Regions from separate parts of the Homo sapiens genome. Here region 2 is linked to region 1. The links are contacts of gene promoters, found by promoter capture Hi-C in blood cells and fetal thymus (Javierre and others, 2016). All regions are on one chromosome and are shown on one strand. Each heading gives the region's core, a stretch centred on a gene start or on the middle of the fragment in contact. The rest is flanking DNA. Distances are from core to core; before and after follow the strand shown. Region 1 holds the start of SGSM3 (small G protein signaling modulator 3). Region 2 has its middle 5.8 kb from the start of MRTFA.

Region 1 (2,919 bases), core at 298-2,797:
AAAAAAAAAAAAAAAAAAGGGGGGGGGGACAGGGAGAAGAACTAAAGCTCAGGCTACTATGATAATTAGGGATGAAAAAGCTACATTCACTTAGGATTATCAAAAGCCAGGAAAGATATCTATAGAATTACAAATTAATCGGGCCTGGCGCAGTGGCTCACGCCTGTAATCCCAGCACTTTGGGAGGCCCGAGACGGGCGGATCACCTGTGGTCAGGAGTTCGAGACCAGCCTGGCCAACATGGCGAAAAACCCCGTCTCTATTAAAAATACACAAATTAGCCGGGCGTGGTGGCGGGCGCCTGTAATCCCAGCTACTCGGTAGGCTGAGGCAGGAGAATCACTTGAATCCGGGAGGCGGAGCTTGCAGTGAGCCGAGATCATGTCATTGCACTCCAGCCCGGGCAAGAGCGAAACTCCCGTCTTAAAAAAAAAATAGAAAAGAAAAGAAAAGAAGAATTACAAATTAATCACCAAGAACAGAAATAGTGTAAAAACAAAGATGTAATTCAACTGTTTAGAGTGCAGAGATAATTGGAACTAAAAGAGCAAGAAAAGCGGGAAACATATGTACCTATAAACCTAATCACAAACCTGTCACAAAAACTACGAGTAAACGAGTCGAAGTTGAAAATGAGTTTTTGTGAATCAGAGTCTGATTTGACTTGAATTTACTAAGAAAGAATAAGAAAGGTGTAGAACATTCCAGGACATCTCTATCCCACCGCAAAACAAAAAAGAGCCATCAACCCACCACAAACGTGCAGCGTGAGACTGGAAGATACACTAGTCACCCAGTCACTGAAAACAACCTTTGAAACATCTTTATTTTTCTTTCCAAATAAAAAAGAGCCTAGGTCAGTAAACTAAGTATGAGAATAATTTTCAAAATTCCAGTCCTAACCACACCGGATGATTCTGGCTAACGTATGCCTCAGTTTCCCCCGTGCTAAAATGCAAACACACCGGTGTTCCGAGTCTCGGGCCTGGATCCGAGCCCGGGTTCTGCACCTGGATCTGAATCTTAAAGGGAAAACCGCAAGTTAAACCTGAGGAGGAGTCTGCAGCTGTCCCGGTGCCAGAGCCAGCCAGGCTCTTTTTAGAAAGCCCCCCGCCTCAGGCGCGGTTTTCGTAAAACCGCTCCCGGCTGCCAGCGCGGTGGATTCCGGCTGGCGCCCCGAACACCTGAGGTGGCCTCGGCCGTCTAGGGGCGGCCGCACCGGAGGACGCAGCCGACCTCCCCGCCCCGCCGCGTCCCCGGCCCCCATTCCAACGGCGACGCGAGCAAGGTCGGCCCGGCGGCTCTCCGGCCCGAGGCGGTGCTTCTCTCGTGGGCGCCTTCGGCCCATACGACCCTCGGTCGGACAGTCCGACCACAGCCGCCCCGCAGCCCCCGCCTGAGGGGAACTTGTAGGCGCCGGTGGGTCTCCGCTGACTCCCGCCCCGCACTCACCTGCCCCACGGGCCACCTCAGCGCCAATCCGGGTCGGGTTAGCAGCTTCCCCACTCGCACCCAGTCAGCGCTCAGCGGCGCCTAAGCGCACGCGTGGCGGGGCGTGGCATGGGCGGCCGCGGGTCATGCTGGGGGCTGTAGTCGTTCCCGCCCACTAGGCGGGGCGCGTCCAGGGGCTTTGCGCCCCCATCCCAAGGCCAGCATGCATAGCGATGATTTCTTCGTCTGCACCGCAGCCTGAGAAGCTTGGGACAGTATGGTGTGGACCAGCAGTCAGGGTGGTGGGAGATAGACGCTGCAAATAACTTGCTAATTTTTTTTTTTTTTTTTTTTTGAGATGGAGTCTCGCTCTGTCACCCAGGCTGAAGTGCAGTGGCGTGATCTCGGCTCACTGCAACCTCCACCTCCCAGGTTCAATCAGTTCTCTGCCTCAGCCTCCCGAGTAGCTGGGATTACAGGCGCCCGCCACCACGCCCAGCTAATTTTTTTGTATTTTTAGTACAGTATTTTTAGTAGAGACGGGGTTTCACCATGTTGGCCAGGCTGGTCTCGAACTCCTGACCTCAGATGATCTGCCCGCTTCAGCCTCCCAAAGTGCTGGGATTACAGGCGTGAGCCACCGCGCCAGGCCGGAAAACGAAATTTTCTGAGTACCTTCTGTGTCAGATTCTATGCTGTGCAATTCCCATCTCACCAACCCTCACATCCACCTAGGCTTCATATCACCTTTCTAGGGACTCCTAACCCTCGTGCTTCCACTAAAGCTGTGTTTACAAACATCAGGCTCTCCTGGTTCTTAAATGAAACTGAGCATCAGCCAGGGAAAGAGGGCATTAAGTGTCCAGGTGTCTGACTTCAGCTGAGCAGACATTTCATCAGTTGCCCCAAGTTCTGCCCAGAACCTGACATCTGGGTAGTTCTGATGCTGGAGTCCGTGTGAATTTAAACCAATCTTAAAGAAAATACAACAGCCTGGGTTAACAGAGTGAGACCCTGTCTCTACAAAAAACAACAAAAAATGAACCACGTGTGGTTGTGTGTGCCATAGTCCCAGCTACTCAAGAGGCTGAGGTGAGAGGATCGCTTGAGCCCAGGAAATCAAGGCTGCAGTGAACTGTGGTCATGCCACTGCACTCCAGCTTGGGCGACAGAGCAAGATCTTGTCTATATATATATATAAAAGATAGATATATGAATGTATATTATATATAATATATATGAATGTATATTATATATAATATATATGAATGTATATTTTATATATATACATAAATGTACATTTAATATATATATGTTTTCCAGTGAACACGCAGACCACCCATCAAATTAAAATGTTACATGGGAAAATCAGATTACAAAGTTGCATACAAGTATGTAAATACAAAAATAAAGGAGAATGGAAAAGGAAAGAAGACAAGAGATGCACCAACAAATCCACCCATTCAAATAGTCCAGGAAGAAACCAGG
Region 2 (3,111 bases), core at 609-3,108, 270 kb before region 1:
GGAGGAAGTGGGATGTCAGCTGGGATTTGAATAGATGAAGATAAAAGAGGACATTCTAGACAAAAAAACTAATCAGAACAAAGACTTAAGAAGAAATAGGAAAGCACAGGATGTGCTGAAGACGGAGTTGATCAAGTCCTGGAAAATACTTTTGGAGAGATTCTCCATGAAGAGAAATAGAGAGGGAAAGGATGGGGGAGTAACTTTTCTCAGAGTATGAATTAACAGGTTGGAAGGAGGAAGATCAGTCTTCAGTGGTTCGCTGAAGGTTCCTGTCATTGGATTTGCCCCTTTCAGCAGCAGCAGCAGAATCAGAAGTGGTGGCCAGTGGATAGGTGACAGAATGAAATCAGCACATGTTTTCAGCAAGGTGCAAAGAAGGATGGAAATGGACAGAAGGACAACTGGCTGCTCATGATTAGCAGAGTGAGGCTTAAAGTTTTACATTTGTGTTAAAGAATTAATTATAGAGGCAGGAGAATTGCTTGAATCCGGGAGACGGAGGTTGCAGTGAGCCAAGATCCCGCCACTGCAATCCAGCCTGAGCGACAAGAGCGAGACTCCATCTCAAAAAAAAAAAAAAAAGAATTAATTATAGAAATACAAGAGTGAATTTGGCTTAGTATCAGTTTTTGGGAAAAGCTCTAGAGGGAAGGGGGTGGAAAGGATTGGTTATAAAGTCAGGTTGAGCCAAAGGGTCAGTGCAGCCACTAGATCTGCCGATGCAAATATAAAATGAAGCCAGGCACGGTGGCTCACACCTGTAATCCCAACACTTTGGGAGACCAAGGCGGGCAGATCACTGGAGGCCAGGAGTTCAAGACCAGCCTGGCCAACATGGTGAAACCCTGCTATCTACTAAAAATACAAAAAAATTAGCCAGGTGTGGTGGTACATGCCTGTAGTCCCAGCTACTCAGGAGGCTGAGGCAGGAGAATCACTTGGACCCGGGAGGCAGACGTTGCAGTGAGCCAAGATTGCACCACTGCACTCCAGCCTGGGCAATAGAACAAAACTCTGTCATAAATAAATAAATAAAAATTAAAAAAAAAGTAATAAAAAATAAATAAAATGAACCAGGCACGGTGGCTTACAATTGTAATCCCAGTGTTTGGGAGGCTGAGGTGGAAGGATCACTTGAAGCCAAGAGTTTGGGACCAGCTTGGGCAACATAACCAGGCCCTGTCTCTACAAAAAAAATTTAAAAATTAGTTGAGCAAGGTGGTGAGCATCTGTACTTCCAAGCTCCTTGGGAGGCTGAGGTGGGAAGATCGCTTGAGCCCAGGTGTTGGAGGCTGCAGTGAGCTATGATCACACCACTGCACTCTAGCCTGAGTGACAGAGTAAGACCCTGTCTCCATATACACATGCAAAAAGTATAGTTTAATAGTAGACGTAGGGAGTCAGACCGAGGAAGGCCACAGGCTCACGGTACTGTTTGGCAGTCAGGTCAGGTCATACCTGAGCACTTTACATAGTTACATTTTTGCTGCAACAATAGGAATGTGTTAGCCCACAGCGGACAACTCAAATGATGCCTCCTGAGCAGGTAAGTGCACCCATGCCCCAGCTGCTGTGAGTGTTGGCTGCTAAGGGTTCCCAGCTGCACAAAATTTCAGAGAATTGCCCTCATTTGAAGGGAGTGGCCTTGGGGACCTTAACTTCCTTAGGGCCCACAACCACTGACATAGACTAGGGGACAAAAAGCTGTCCATGCCTCAAGGTGAGTGACTGTGGTGTTGTTTCTGCCCAGAGCTCTCCTATGTGCATCAGGCCAAGGAAAGATCAGGCTGAGCCTTACTCGAGTCTCTTCCCTTCTCTGTCTTGCTCATCTTCCTCCCTTACAGGTTTTTCCTCCCTCACTAAGTCCTGTTCATTGGCTCTGTCTTACAGGCTCTGTTTCTAAGGGCCCTGACCCAAGACACCTATGAAATCAAATAGCCAGAAAAGAACTGGATCTAGGTTCTCAAACAGAGCTATCATCCGTCATGGCCTTTATGCGTATTTCAGCTGTGATTGTTTGGTTTTGTGTTGGCTTTATTCTCCCTGTGGTCCTCACTGTTAATGCCAGGTGTACAGCCAGACAGTTCAGCAACCCTCCTGTAGAGAAAACTCCATCCCAGTAGTTGTTTTTTTTAAGATGGAGTTTTGCTTTTGTTTCCCAGGCTGGAGTGCAATGGCATGATCTTGGCTCACTGCAGCCTCTGCCTCCCAGGTTCAAGCGATTCTCCTGCCTCAGCCTCCCAGGTTCAAGCGATTCTCCTGCCTTAGCCTCCCAAGTAGCTGGGATTACAGGCGCGAGCCACAACAGCCAGCTGTATTTAGTAGAGACGGGGTTTTACCATATTGGTCAGACTGGTCTTGAACTCCTGACCTCAGGTGATCCCCCCGCCTCCCAAATTGCTGGGATTACAGGCATGTGCCACTGCTCTCGGCCCCATCCCAGTAGTTCTAACAAGATGCCAGGACTCACGCTAACTGGACTGTCTTGATCACATGTCTTTCCCTAAATCAATCACTACAAATGATGGCAGGCAAGGGTTGGAGTGCTTTCATTGGTTAGGACTGGGCCATGTGATCCCCCCCACCCCCCAACCCCAAGGTGAGTAGTGAGTCATATTCCCAAGGCAGCTACAGGGATAGACAGTGGGGCGGAGTGGTTCTGTTACCAGCAAGGCCTCCTGATCTAGACCTCAAGAGAGGGTTCTTGGATCTCGTGCAAGAAAGAATTTGAGGCGAATTCATAGAGTTAAGTGAGAGCAAGTTTATTAGAGAAGTAAGGAAACAAGAGGCCAGGTGCAGTGGCTCAGGCCCGTAATCCCAGCACTTTCGGAGGCTGAGTCGGGGTGCAGATCACTTGAGGCCAGGAGTTCTAGACCAGCCTGGCCAATATGGTGAAAGCCCCTCTCTACCAAAAATACAAAAATTAGCCAGGTGTGGTGGCACGCACCTGTAGTCTCAGCTACTCTGGAGGCTGAGGGAGGAGAATCGCTTGAACCTGGGAGGCAGAGGTTGCAGTGAACTGAGATTGTGCCACTGCACTCCAGCCTGGGTGACAGGGCAAGACTCTGTGTCAAAAAAAGGAAAAAAAAAAAAAGAGATACAAAAGAA

Evidence for each region. The method cuts DNA at HindIII sites, captures the fragments that hold promoters and counts their contacts. A CHiCAGO score of 5 or more calls a contact.
Region 2: a fragment that was not itself captured here is called in contact with the fragment with the promoter of SGSM3 in region 1 in 2 of 17 cell types (endothelial precursors and M2 macrophages); the score reaches 6.0 in endothelial precursors.

What each region holds. Positions count from the first base shown.
Region 1 is chr22:40,369,222-40,372,140 of GRCh38, reverse strand. It overlaps SGSM3 (small G protein signaling modulator 3), which reads right to left and starts at 1,547. Exons shown (of 22, transcript NM_015705.6): 1 at 1,453-1,547. ADSL (adenylosuccinate lyase) reads right to left here. Exons shown (of 13, transcript NM_000026.4): 13 at 2,774-2,919. RefSeq lists silencers at 1,162-1,331, 1,392-1,501 and an enhancer at 1,652-1,861. The HindIII fragment of the contact is 2,317 bases long and covers 1-1,699 here.
Region 2 is chr22:40,640,925-40,644,035 of GRCh38, reverse strand. No RefSeq gene overlaps it. Among named protein-coding and RNA genes, the nearest start is that of MRTFA, 5.8 kb to the right of the region's middle. The HindIII fragment of the contact is 3,975 bases long and covers 1-3,111 here.